Regions from separate parts of the Homo sapiens genome. Here region 2 is linked to region 1. The links are contacts of gene promoters, found by promoter capture Hi-C in blood cells and fetal thymus (Javierre and others, 2016). All regions are on one chromosome and are shown on one strand. The core of a region is centred on a gene start or on the middle of the fragment in contact, and the rest is flanking DNA. Distances in the headings are between cores, read along the strand shown.

Region 1 (6,338 bases), core at 2,310-4,809:
CATTGGCTGGAGTTGGACTGCACAATTTAAGCTAACCTGATTGGCTAAAACTTGAAATTTTTCCAAATAGGGTAGATGGGGAAGAAGGGGTAGGTGGTAAAACTTTTCCAAATATGGTAAACTGAAACTCTTAAACACATAACTTGTAAAGAAAGGAGGGGAGTGGGGGATTGTCCATTAAGGCATGTTTGGGCATGTTTAGGCACGGCAAGGATGGAAAGGCTTGTTTGGAGAACAAGAATTTATCCTTTCTAGCAATGTGAAAGGATGCTAGTCGCTAAAAGGAACAAGGAAGTTTGAAGAGGAACTGATTATTTCTGGCAGAGTTCATTTAGCTTCTTGGATATATAGAATAACATTTTTCAACAGATTTAGGAAGCTTTCAGTCGTTATTTCTTGGAATATTTTTATGTTCCTTTTTCTCACTTTTCTCCTTCTGGTACTCCCATTATATGTACATTGCTGCACCTAATGGTGCCCCACTTTTCCCTGAAATGCTGTTTATTTTTCCTCATTAATTTTCTTTGTCTTTCTGATTGCATCATTTCTATTGCTATACTCTCAGGTCTGTTGATTCTTTCTTCCAGCTGAAATCTACTGTTGGGCCCCCAAAGTGAATATTTCATTTTTGTTGTTATACCTTCCAATCCCATAATTTCAGTTTGCCCTTTAAAAAAATCATTGCTATTTCTTTACTGGTGTTTTCTATTTGATGAAACATTGTCATTATATTCTTCTTTTACTTCATTAAACATTATTTTCTTTAGTTCTTTGAACATATTTATAATAGCTGCTTTAAAGGCTTTGTTAACTCTGACATCTGGGCCCTCTCAAAGGCAACTTCTGTCACTGATGTTTTTTCTTTGTATAGGTTATACTTTTCTGTTTCTTTGCATGTCTCATTTTTTGTGGAAGATTAGAGATTTTGGATACTACATTGTAGCAACTCTGGATACTAATCCCTCCCCCCAGTTCTCCCTGAGCTTATCGCTTATGTTGTTTACTTATTTATTTGTTTGTTTTCTTTTTTGAGACAGGGTCTCACTCTGTTGCCCAGGCTGGAGTGCCATGGTGTGATCATAGCTCACTGCAGCCTTGACCTCCCCTGCTCAAGTGATCCTCCCACTTCAGCCACTCAAGTAGCTGGGACTACAAGCATGCACTATGTTTTTTTTTTTTTTTTTTAAGATGGAGTCTCGCTCTGTCACCCAGGCTGGAGTGCCGTGGCGCAATCTCAGCTCACTGCAAGCTCTGCCTCCTGGGTTCATACCATTCTCCTGCCTCAGCCTCCCGAGTAGCTGGGACTACAGGTGCCCACCACCACGCCTGGCTAATATTTTGTATTTTTAGTAGAGACGGGGTTGCACCATGTTAGCCAGGATGGTCTTGATCTCCTGACCTTGCCCGCCTTGGCCTCTCAAAGTGCTGGGATTACAGGCCTGAGCCACTGTGCCAGATGCACTATTTTTTTAATTTTTATTTTCATAGAAATGGGGTTTCACCATGTTGCCCAGGCTGGTGTTGAACTCCTGAGCTCAAATGATTCACTGCTTTAGCCTCCCAAAGTGCTGGGATTACAGGCACGAGCCCCTGTGTTCTGACCTTCTTTATTTGTTTAATGATGTGGATAAGCTATTTCAGTAAAGTCTATTTCCTTTGCAGTGTGCAGCTTCTAATATCACACCTCAGGTGGTGCAGCCTTGGTCCTGTGTACAGTCACCCTAAGAATGCAGTGTTTTCCACAGGGCTGTCTTGACTTTCTCCTTCCCTGATCTCTCTGTTAAGCTCTGTGCCTCTGTTGGTCTCACACCCAACTATTAGCCTCCACTAACTGCAGGCTAATTGTCCTACTGTTTTCAAAAATGCTCTGGGGGCAGTAATTGCGCTATCTGCTTTTCCAGGCCAAGCTCCTCCCGTGTGTGCTATCTTCAGGGGTATCCATAAACATGCTTAAGAAACCAAAAATTACATTATTTGTCATGAGTTTTAAAAAGATAATTACACCTGGCCGGGCATGGTGGCTCACACCTGTAATCCCAGCACTTTGGGAGGCTGAGATGGGTGGATCACGAGGTCTGGAGATCGAGACCATCCTGGCTGACGTGGTGAAACCCCGTCTCTACTAAAAATACAAAAAAATTAGCCGGGCGTGGTGGGGGGCGCCTGTAGTCCCAGTTACTCCGGAGGCTGAGGCAGGAGAATGGCGTGAACCTGGGAGGCGGAGCTTGCAGTGAGCTGAGATCACACCACTGCACTCCAGCCTGGGTGACAGAGCGAGACTCCATCTCAAAAAAAAAAACAAAAAACAAACAAACAAACAACAACGACAAAAGATAATTACACCTAGCCAGAATAGTGAATCTTATAACCCTCTAAGAGAAACCTAAGTAAACTCTTACAAAGATACAATGACGTAAAAACACAAAAATCTGCCATGCATATACTCACTGGGGTAAAGCCTCTTCTATAACTTTTGTTTTCTGAAACAAACCAAACAAACAAACAAAAAACCAAAAACCTAAAACATAAATAATAGGAATGAAAAAGGGGGTCTGCCTTCTAGTTCCAAGCTCCTGCAGCACTCGGAGGTTAATAACTTTCCCTTCCAGTCCCCTTGGGTGGTTTCACTTCAGAGTGCCTCCAGTAAAACACCTCCCTGTGAATAAATGGCTTTCCCTAGCACCCAAGGGAGCAGATTTTCAGCAAATTTGTTGAGTGTGTGTGTCAAGAGGAAGACACCAGTGAGTCCCCCTGGTGTAGCAGTTGAGCAACTTCTTTGCCAGTTCAGCAAATTCACACTATGCCCTTTCCAACAAGAGCTGGGTCTCATCCCTATGGGTGGAAACGGGGTCTTTCTTGGGTGCTCTATTTAAGCCCTAAGGGTAGTGGTATTTTCTTATATGTATAGTTTCTATATTCTCCCTTTTTTTTTTTTTTTTTTTTTTTTTTGAGACAGAGTCTCGTTCTGTTGCCCAGGCTGGAGTGCAGTAGTGCGATCTCGGCTCACTGCAACCTCCAGCTCCCAGGTTCAAGCGATTCTCCAGCTTCAGCCTCCCGAGTAGCTGGGATTACAGGCATGTGCCACCATGCCCGGCTAATTTTTGTAGTTTTGGTAGAGAGGGGGTTTCACCCTGTTGGCCAGGCTGGTCTTGAACTCCTGGCCTCAAGTGATCCTCCCAGCTCAGCCTCCCAAAGTGCTGAGATTACAGGTGGGATTACCACCGTGCTCGGCCCAAATTAAAATTTCTAAAATTTTCAGGCTCAAAGCCTATTTCCTGAAATGGTTCCAATCATTTCTTTCTCTCTTAGAAGAAAGTAACGTGGATAAAAATTGTCCCCAAACCAGCCCTTGGCACCATTTTTAGAGGCGGAATATGAGGCTGGATAAAGCCCAGTTTTGCCTGCAATGGCATTCCTGTCTCCCGTCCCAGGACCCCAGAAGATTATGACTACCAGAAAACACGCCAGTCTTTGCCCTGATCTGGCCAGAGGCCCAGAGGGTACATAGGCGGTGACAGAGTGAGACCTTGTTTCAAAAAACAAAACAAAACTGGGGTTAGGGAAGCTAGCTAGGGAGCTGGGGTGAGACGTGCTGTGCTCACCCTAACCACACTCTGACAAGGAAAGCTGGCGAAGTCTCTTATCTTACAGTTGAAAGATCAGGCCCTGGAGGCCTATATAACCCATATGAGATCTCTTTCTAGGGTTCCCAGGAGCCGAGGTGCCCATCTGAGCCTGATCTTCCTGAAATCTTTGGGAAGCTCACCTTCCAAGACTCCCCATGATGAGCAGTATTGATTTTTCTGGGTCCCCACATTGCTTAGGGAAATAGGTTCCTCCACCTCCCATTGGCCTTTTTGTGCTTACCCTGAGAAGCTGTGTCAGGCCACTGTGTCAGGTGTCAGGCTTAGCCCAGAGAGAGTGAGGTGGAGGAGGCGGAGGGTGTAACCCAGCCAGGTCCTCTTCACATAAGCTATCAGACAAGCTCCTCAGGGCAGCAGCTCCTCAAGGCCCCAGGAACATGGCTGTCCCCTGGCTAGTGCTACTCTTGGCATTGCCCATCTTTTTCCTGGGGGTCTTTGTCTGGGCTGTCTTTGAGCACTTCCTCACCACGGATATCCCTGCTACCTTGCAGCATCCTGCCAAGTTGAGATTCCTGCATTGCATATTCCTCTACCTGGTCACTTTGGTGAGTTTACTCTCAGGCCACGTCGTAACCTGGGGGCTTCTTCTCTTGTTCTCAGTACCTTACCCTCTTTTCCCTCTTTCACTTCCCTTCTGTCTCTCTCTCTTCGGACTCCCTCAAGATAGACTTGTCTCTTCTGTATCTGCTATTCTGTTTGCCTCTCTCTTCCCTCCCTCCGTTCCTTCCCCCTTCCCATAGCCTGCCTGCCTTTCTTCCTCTCTCCCTCCCTTCCTTCCCTCCTTCTCTCCCTCCTTTCCTTTCTTTTTTCCTTCTTTCCTTCCCTCCTTCCCTCTCCTTCCTCCTTCCCTCATTCTCTCCCTTCCTCCCTATCTCCTTCATTCCCTCCCTCCCTTCCTTCCTTCCCTCCTTCTCCGCTCCTTTCCTTCCTTTTTCCTTCTTTCTTTCTCTCCCTCCCTCCTTCCTTCCTCCTTCCCTCCTTCCTTCATTCTCTCTCTTCCTATCTCCTTCCTTCCCTCCCTCCTTCCTTTCTTCTTTCCCTTCTTCCTTCCTCCCTATCTCCTTTCTTCCTTCCCTCCTCCCTCCCTCCCTCCCTCCCTCCCTTCCTTCCTTGTTTCCTTCCTACCTTCCTTCCTTCCCTCCTTTTGTTCCGTTCTTCCTTCCTCTCTCCTGCTCTCTCTAACTCCCTTCCTTTCTTCCTTTAGCATCAAACATTTACCGAGTGCCAATCACTGGGCTCTTTTCTGAGAATTCAAAAACAATTTCAGACCCAGTTCCTGCCTTCCCCGGGCTTGTGGCCTGACAGCCCCTGCCCCTCCTTCAGCCGCGCACACTTTCACCCTCAGTGCACTGACTTACCTATAGGTTGTTTCTATTTTATTTTACTTTTTTGAGACGGGGTCTTGCTCTGTTGCCCAGGCTGGAGTGCAGTGGTGCAATCATGGCTCAGTGCAGCCTCAACCTCCTGGGCTCAAGCGATCCTTTCCATCTCAGCCTCCCAAGTAGCTGGGACTACAGGTGCGCACCACCATGCCCGGCTAATTTTTGTACTTTTGGTAGAGACAGGGTTTCGCTATGTTGCCCAGGCTGGTCTAGAACTCCTGGGCTCAAGCAATCTGCCCGCCTTGGCCTCCCAAAGTGTAGGGATTGCAGGTGTGAGCCACTGCACCTAGCTTCACAGGTGTTTTTTTCCTTATTCATCTCTGTAAGCCCAGTCCCACTCACAGAGCCTGGTATCTGGTAGGTGCTTACTTTTGTTGGTATACATGAATTTACCCAGCATTTCTGAGTGGCCGTGCCAGCCAGGCTCTGAGCAGGGCTTGGGGATTGGGGGTTTGGGGTGGACCAGCATGCACCCAGAGTTGCAGTGGATTTGGAAACAGTGGTGTGACATCTTGTTTGTGGCAGGCAACCTGAGTTAACCCCAATGTCCCAACCCTAGGTGGAGACCTTATAGAAGCCAAACAGCTCCTACTGATTCCAGGGCAGCTGTGGAGGAGGATGAGGAGGCCACGCTTAACTGACAGCAGGGCTTAGGAATAAGGAACAGAGACAGCAGCCGGACTGCCTGAGTGTGTGTCCCAGCTCTGTCACTCACTCGCTGTGCGGTCCTGCACCATTTACTTAACCTCTCTGTGTCTCAGTTTCCTCATCTGGGAGGGTTAATATGTCTAGAGATGTTTAGTGAATTCGTAAAATACATCTCTGTGCTGCTGGAAGTGTTCCCCATGGGTTACAAAAACATTTTCTAAAAGATCACTTTTAGAGACACCGACAAGTTCAGTGTGCAGTGGCATCAATGCCACTGACGCAAGGAGACAGGACAAGGATGTAGAAAGTACTCGTGTCCTCTCATTTGGAGAATGCAATCAGCCTGGAATTAGGCAGTCTCAAGCCAGTGGCTGCAATCCACATGGAGTTACTAGTTGGGTTAGAGCCCCAGGATTTAAAACGAGGGCCTAAGATGTTCAGGTGGCCCAGAGAAATGGAGATTTTTCTGTCAGTGTTTCTCCTCAAAAGTAGCCCACAAGCTAAACATCTACTGATGACAGCTGCTATGGGCTGTTCACAGGGGACTCTGAGATGGGTCTGCAGCCGCTGAAAGGGTGGATTCAGCTTGTGGCGTCCTCTCTCGATCCCTCCGGCACTGGGGCCTCCCAGGGCACACTGCCCATCATGGGGTGATGATGATGAG
Region 2 (6,338 bases), core at 2,206-4,705, 550 kb before region 1:
ACCTCAAATGATCCGCCTGGGCTGGGTGCGGTGGCTCACGCCTGTAATCCCAGCACTTTGGAAGGCCAAGGCGGGACGGATCATGAGGTCAGGAGATCGAGAGCATCTTGGCTAACACGGTGAAACCCCGTCTCTACTAAAAATACAAACAATTAACCGGTCATGGTGGTGATTGCCTGTAATCTCAGCTGAGGCAGGAGAATCACTTGAACCTGGGAGGCGGAGGTTGCAGTGAGCTGAGATCCTGCCACTGCACTCCAGCCTGAGCAACAGAGCAAGACTTTGTCTCAAAAAAAAAAAAAAAAAAAAAAAATCCGCCCACCTCAGCCTCCCAAAGTGCTGGGATTATAGGCGTGAGCCACCGCACCCGATGGAGCTGACATTCTTATGGGGAATTTAGACACTGTGAAGATTGAGCTCACAAATAAATGTGTGATTACAACAGTTAGGTGTTGAAGGGCAAGGAAATGAGTCTTTGTTTTTATTGGGGATCACGACCAAGGCTCTGAGACAGTGATGCTTTGATCATGATGTGAAGGCTGAGTGGGAGTTACTAGGGGAGAGGAGCATTCGGGGCAGAGGACCAGCTTGTGCAAAGGCCCTGGGGTGGCAGAAGGGAGCATTGCCCCTTTGGGGAACAGGGAGATGCCAGTGTGGCTAGAGATCAGAGGGCAAGGGGGACATAGGTGAGCCGAACCTCACTAGCCATGGTAAGGACCCATCCTGGGAGCCATGAGAAGCCTTTGAAAGTTTTCAGCAAGGAGTGAAGGGGTCAGATTTACCTCTCAGACTACTGGGGAACTACTGAAGTGTCTGAGTTAAAGAGTGACAGCCATGAAGCTAGTTTTTTTTTTTTTTTTTGCTTTTTTTTTTTGAGACGGAGTCTCACTCTATCGCCCAGGCTGGAGTGCAGTGACGCGATCTCGGCTCACTGCAACCTCCGCCTACCAGGTTCAAGCAATTCTCCTGCCTCAGCCTCCTGAGTAGCTGGGATTACAGGAGTGTACCACCATGCCCGGCTAATTTTTGTATTTTTAGTAGAGACGGGGTTTCACCATGTTGGCCAGGCTGGTCTTGAACTTATGACCTCAAATGATCCATGCGCCTCGGCCTCCGAAAGTGCTGGGATTACAGGTTTGACCCACCGCACCCGGCTCGAAGCTAGTATTTTTGAGAGGTTCTTGCGTGTTGTTCTAGGGCAGAGGTGCTTACCCTGGGGTCCATGGACTCAAAGGTAGATTTCACAGGGTTCATGAACCTGAATGGATTCAATTATTTTAATTAGCTTCTAGCTAAAATTCACTTATGAATTCCGCCCATTATGAATTAAGGCAACAAAGCACAGTGGTAATTGTAGTACACGGCTTTGTCCTCAGCGGAAATCATAGATATTCTCAGATTATATTACAGTAGCTGCAGATGTTGTGAAATGTTGTCTGGGCTCATCATTGCTTTGAAACTGTGGAGTTATTTTACCCTATTATTTAATGAGTTTACAAAGAATCACATGTTACTGTATCTTTTTTTTTTTTTTTGAGATGGAGTTTCGCTCCTGTTGCCCAGGCTGGAGTGCAATGGCACGATCTCGGCTCACTGCAACCTCCGCCTCCCGGGTTCAAGTGATTCTCCTGCCTCAGCCTCCCCAGTAGCTGGGATTACAGGCGCCTGCCACGACACCCAGCTAATTTTTGTATTTTTAGTAGAGACGGTGTTTCACCACGTTGGCCAGGCTGGTCTTGAACCCCTGACCTTATGTGATTCACCCACCTCGGCCTCCCAAAGTGTTGGGGTTACAGGCGTGAGCCACCGCACCCGGCCTGTTACTATATGTTATTTTGTTTAATGCTTTGATAACCATATTCCAAGGTAGTTGGATTCCTCTGCATTCCTGCATATTTTATTCATGAATTCATGATTCTGTGCAGTGTCCACAGGCTTCCTTAGAATGATTAGGGGCACAAGAAATATTGGGAACCCCCTGGTCTATTTTCATTGTAACTGGCAGAAGGGCTCAAATAAGACAAAAGAGAAATAATTGGCTCCCTAACAGAGAAGTCCATGGACACCCTACATTCAGATGTTTGAACGATGTCCTCAGGAGCCCATTTCTCTCCAACTCTGGCTTCTGCTGGCTTCTGAGTCACCTCCTTCTTAGGCAAGTCCTGCCCACACCATGCCCACGCTCAGGCTGTGATGACCTGGGCAGCTCTGGGCTTAACTAGCCCTTTCAGCCAGGAATCCAGTAGATAAACGGAGGACATCTTTCTGGATTGCTTTTGTGAAACTCTCAGAGATGAGGCTTATTGGCTGGCATGCCTGGGTCATGTGCCCATACTAAACTAATCACAGTGGTGAGGAACATGGAGTACTCTGATTGGCCTGCTTGGGTCATGTGGCAATCCTGAGCCAATTATATTGATGGGAAGAAGTATTCTGATTGGCCTGCTTGGGTCATGTGCTCATCCTGGAAGCAAGGTAGGCAGCGATTGCTGGGTGACTTGTTTATCTCGAAATCAGGCTGGATTAGGGTCTTAGTGGCAGGAGTGTCCAATCTTTCGGCTTCCCTGGGCCACATTGGAAGAAGAAGTGTTAGTGTGGAAGAAGTGAATTTAGTCTAACACTAAGGATAGTGTTTTAGCTTATAGCTGATGAGCTAAAAAAAAAAAAAAAAAAAATCACACACACGCAAATCTCATAATGTTTTAAGAAAGTTTATGAGTTTGCGTTGGGCCTCATTCAGAGCTGTCCTGGGCCGAATGCGGCTAGTCGTGGGTTGGACAAGCTTGGTCTAGACTTTCATGGTCTAAAGTTATGGCTCTCCTAATTCCTGCAGTGAGATAAGACCCCTGCAGAGAATGATGACAACCGGTGCTCATATAGTGCTTGTTGGGTGCCAGGGACTGCTGTAGTACTTTATACATATTTATCTTCACAGTCCATTCAGTCCTTTCAAGAACACTAGGAGGTGGGTCCTATTACTAACTTAATAGTGCTAAATATATACACGTACTATGTACCCTCACACACACACACACACAAATAGTGCTGACAAGGTCATTATCACGCAATTGGCAAATGGCAGCCCTAGAATCCCAGGCCCAGCTCTTCTCTATAACTATGTTGCTTTTCCTTGCCTGCTAGGGGACCTTAGGCGAGGGTTGCCCCTCCTGGGTGTCAGTGCTTCCATCCATAACACAAGAATTGGACTGACAGTTTTCGGGGGTTGGAGGTGGAGCTGGGAGGGGCGTCAGGGATGAGAGGTGTGGGGCATTGGGTCATAAGGCCTTTGCTAAGTCAGCCTGGCTTGGAGCTTCTCTGTTTCTTTTCCCAGGGCTGTTCCCGACACAGCAGTGCCCACAGAGGCCTACTGACTGCAGGAAGCAGTGTGAGCCTGACTACTACCTGGATGAGGCCGACCGCTGTACAGCCTGCGTGACTTGTTCTCGAGGTAAGGGCCTTGTTCTCTCTCCAGGGCCTCCTTCTAGGGAGCATGAGGGGTCCTCAGAGGAGAGGTGAAGAATCTGGAAGGTGGAGAGCATCATGATTTGATGTCTGTTCTCTGAATTGTCCTCCTGGTGCCTCAGTTTACCTCTCTGCATTTGTGATTTGATATCAGCCATGACCTTTTGCATCCATACTTTCACAGAGACTTAACATGTTTCCTGAAGGAGAGGACTCACATTTTTTTGAGTTTAATCCTCACCACAGCCCTAGGGGAGGATTTCTTGCTTATCCTTACTTTACAATGAGGAATTTGAGGATAGGGAGGTTAAGGGCCTTTCCAAAGTTACAAAACTCTGGTAAGTGGCAGAACTGGAGTTTGAGTTGTGGCCTGACACCAAGAGCTGTGTTCTTTTCCTAAGATCACAGGACTTCCAGGAAAACTGTTTCAGTATGACCTTTTATTGTTAGTCTCTTATTATGGTTAGAGAATGCAGTCTGTGTGCTATCTAGTGTTTATTTTTGTGTGGATTTTTTTGGGGGGTAGGGTGGGGGAAATTTGTTGAGATCTTTTTGTGGTCTAATAAATAATAAATGATCATGTATTTTCAGAGTGTTCAGTGTATGGGTGTTTTAAAATGTGTATTCTGTTTGTTGCGTATAAAGTTCTCTACATATCTATTAAGTTAAGCTTGTTAATTGTGTTATTTAAATAATGTGTACCCTTATTTACTTTTATCACCTTTATTTCTGAGAGATGTGTTAAAATCTTATCTCCCAGTATACTTGTTCATCTATTAGATTTTCATTGTGTTCTTTCTATTTTTGCTTCATATATGTCAAAGCTATGTTATTAGGTACATAAATGTTCATGAATGTTATGTTTTTTTGGTGGGTTGGGCTTTTTATCCACATGAATATACCTCTCCATTCCTTGTAATGCCTTTTCCCTTAATTTCACATTTGTTTGGCATTAATATTGCTATTCCTTCCTGGAAGAAGTAGCAAAGGTTAAAAAGAAAGAAAAGTAATAATAATATTGCCATTTCTTCTTTCTTTTTATTAGCATTTATCTGGTGTATCTTTGAATTTCTAAAAGTAATGACTGCATTTTATGAAATGAAAATTATAAACATTTATTATTTAAAATTCAAGCAATACAAAGAGTGTAAGGAAGAAAACAAACATTGCCCTCCCCAGCCCTCCATCTATAGATAACTACTATTATCATTAGATGGCTGACACGCCTCTACCTCTCTGTATAAAGATGGGTAGGTTAGTAACCAGACAGCCTGTACACACTTACAAAGAAGGAATTTTAAGAGAATGGCAACATATTTATGGCATTAAAATGATAATATTTAATTTTAGTCAAAAGTATCAGAAAAAGAAAGCGAAGTGAAACAGAAGAATGCCAAACCTCAGTCAGATTAATGTATCTTCAGCAAAAGATACTGCAATTCCTTTAAAAAAAAAAACCCTCTAAAATTAAGAAAGGAGGTTATGAAAATCAGTAAGTGGTTAATAATCATTTCAGAATCTACTATCTCTTGCAGTAAAGGCAAAATCTGCTTAGTTTGAGTTTTGGACAGTAGAGAATAGATTGACTCCCTGTAATGAAGAACAAAGTAATTATTTTTCCCACCTCCTCATCCTCTTCCTGACTTTTATTCCTTACACAAATTTTACTTTGTCATAATCTATAATGTTTATATTCTCATCTGCAACCATAAGTCCCTTGGCATGTTAGCCTTAACATTTTTTATTATTCATGATGAGTTTATTTGGCACAGCTTCTCTGTTCCTGAGTTTTTCACTTTGATTCATCATTTGAGTGATTGGATTACACTGTCAGGTGGATTTTTCAAGAAGGGCTCGTCTTTGCAATATTCTCTGTTATTTCATGTTTGAGGATGCTTGTCTGTTGCCTATATTTTTGTTTTCTTTTTTTTCTTTTTGAGACAGAGTCTGACTCTGTCGCCCAGGCTGGAGTGCAGTGGTGCAATCTCGGCTCACTACAACCTCTACCTCCTGGATTCGAGCGATTCTCCTGCCTCCTGAGTAGCTGAGATTACAGGGATGCACCACCACGCCTGGCTAATTTTTGTATTTTTAGAAGAGATGGGGTTTCATCATGTTGCCCAGGCTGGTCTCAAACTCCTGACCTCAAGTGATCCAGCCGCCTTGGCCTCCTAAAGTGTTGGGATTACAGGTGTGAGTCACCATTCCCGGCCCAATTTCTTATCTTTAAATTTTAAGACAGGGTCTCACTTTGTTGTCCAGGCTGGCCTTAAACTCCAGGGCTTAAGTGTTCCTCCTGCCTCAGCCTCCCGAGTAGCTGGGGCTGCACTTGCATGTTACTGCACCCAACTTACAATTTTTTTGTGTGTCTCTGAGGATATAAATTATAGTCATGTATTGCTTATTGACAGGAATACATTCTGACAAACGTGTCATTAGGCAATTTTGTCGTTGTGCAAGCATCCTAGATTAGTGTACTTACACACACCTACATGATGTAGCCTACTGCACACCTAGGTTCTATGGCAGATCCTTTTGCTCCTAAGCTACAACTCTGCACAGCATGTGACTGTCCTGAATACTGTAGGCAGCTGTGACACAATGTGAGTATTTGTGTATCTAAACATAGAAAAGGTGCAATAAAAATACGACATAGGCCGGGCACAGTGACTCACACCTGTAATGCCAGCACTTTGGGAGGCCGAGGAGGGTGGATTACCTGAGGTCAGGAGTTCGAGACCAGCCTGGCTAACATGGCGAAACCCCATCTCTACTAAAAATACAAAAATTAGCTGGGCGTGGTGGCACGTGTCTGTAGTCCCAGCTACTCAAGAGGCTGAAGCAGAAGAATTGCTTGAACCTGGGAGGCGGAGGTT

Evidence for each region. Contacts are between HindIII fragments. The CHiCAGO score rates a contact against its expected background, and 5 or more counts as called.
Region 2: a contact is called between a fragment that was not itself captured here and the fragment with the promoter of AADACL4 in region 1, in 7 of 17 cell types (activated CD4 T cells, naive CD8 T cells, total B cells and 4 more). The highest score is 8.1, in activated CD4 T cells.

The regions. Positions count from the first base shown.
Region 1 is chr1:12,640,526-12,646,863 of GRCh38, forward strand. AADACL4 (arylacetamide deacetylase like 4) reads left to right here and starts at 3,560. Exons shown (of 4, transcript NM_001013630.2): 1 at 3,560-4,189. The coding sequence starts at 4,022. The HindIII fragment of the contact is 15,531 bases long and covers 378-6,338 here.
Region 2 is chr1:12,093,770-12,100,107 of GRCh38, forward strand. It overlaps TNFRSF8 (TNF receptor superfamily member 8), which reads left to right. Exons shown (of 15, transcript NM_001243.5): 3 at 3,332-3,448. Among named protein-coding and RNA genes, the nearest start is that of TNFRSF8, 34 kb to the left of the region's middle. The HindIII fragment of the contact is 1,350 bases long and covers 2,781-4,130 here.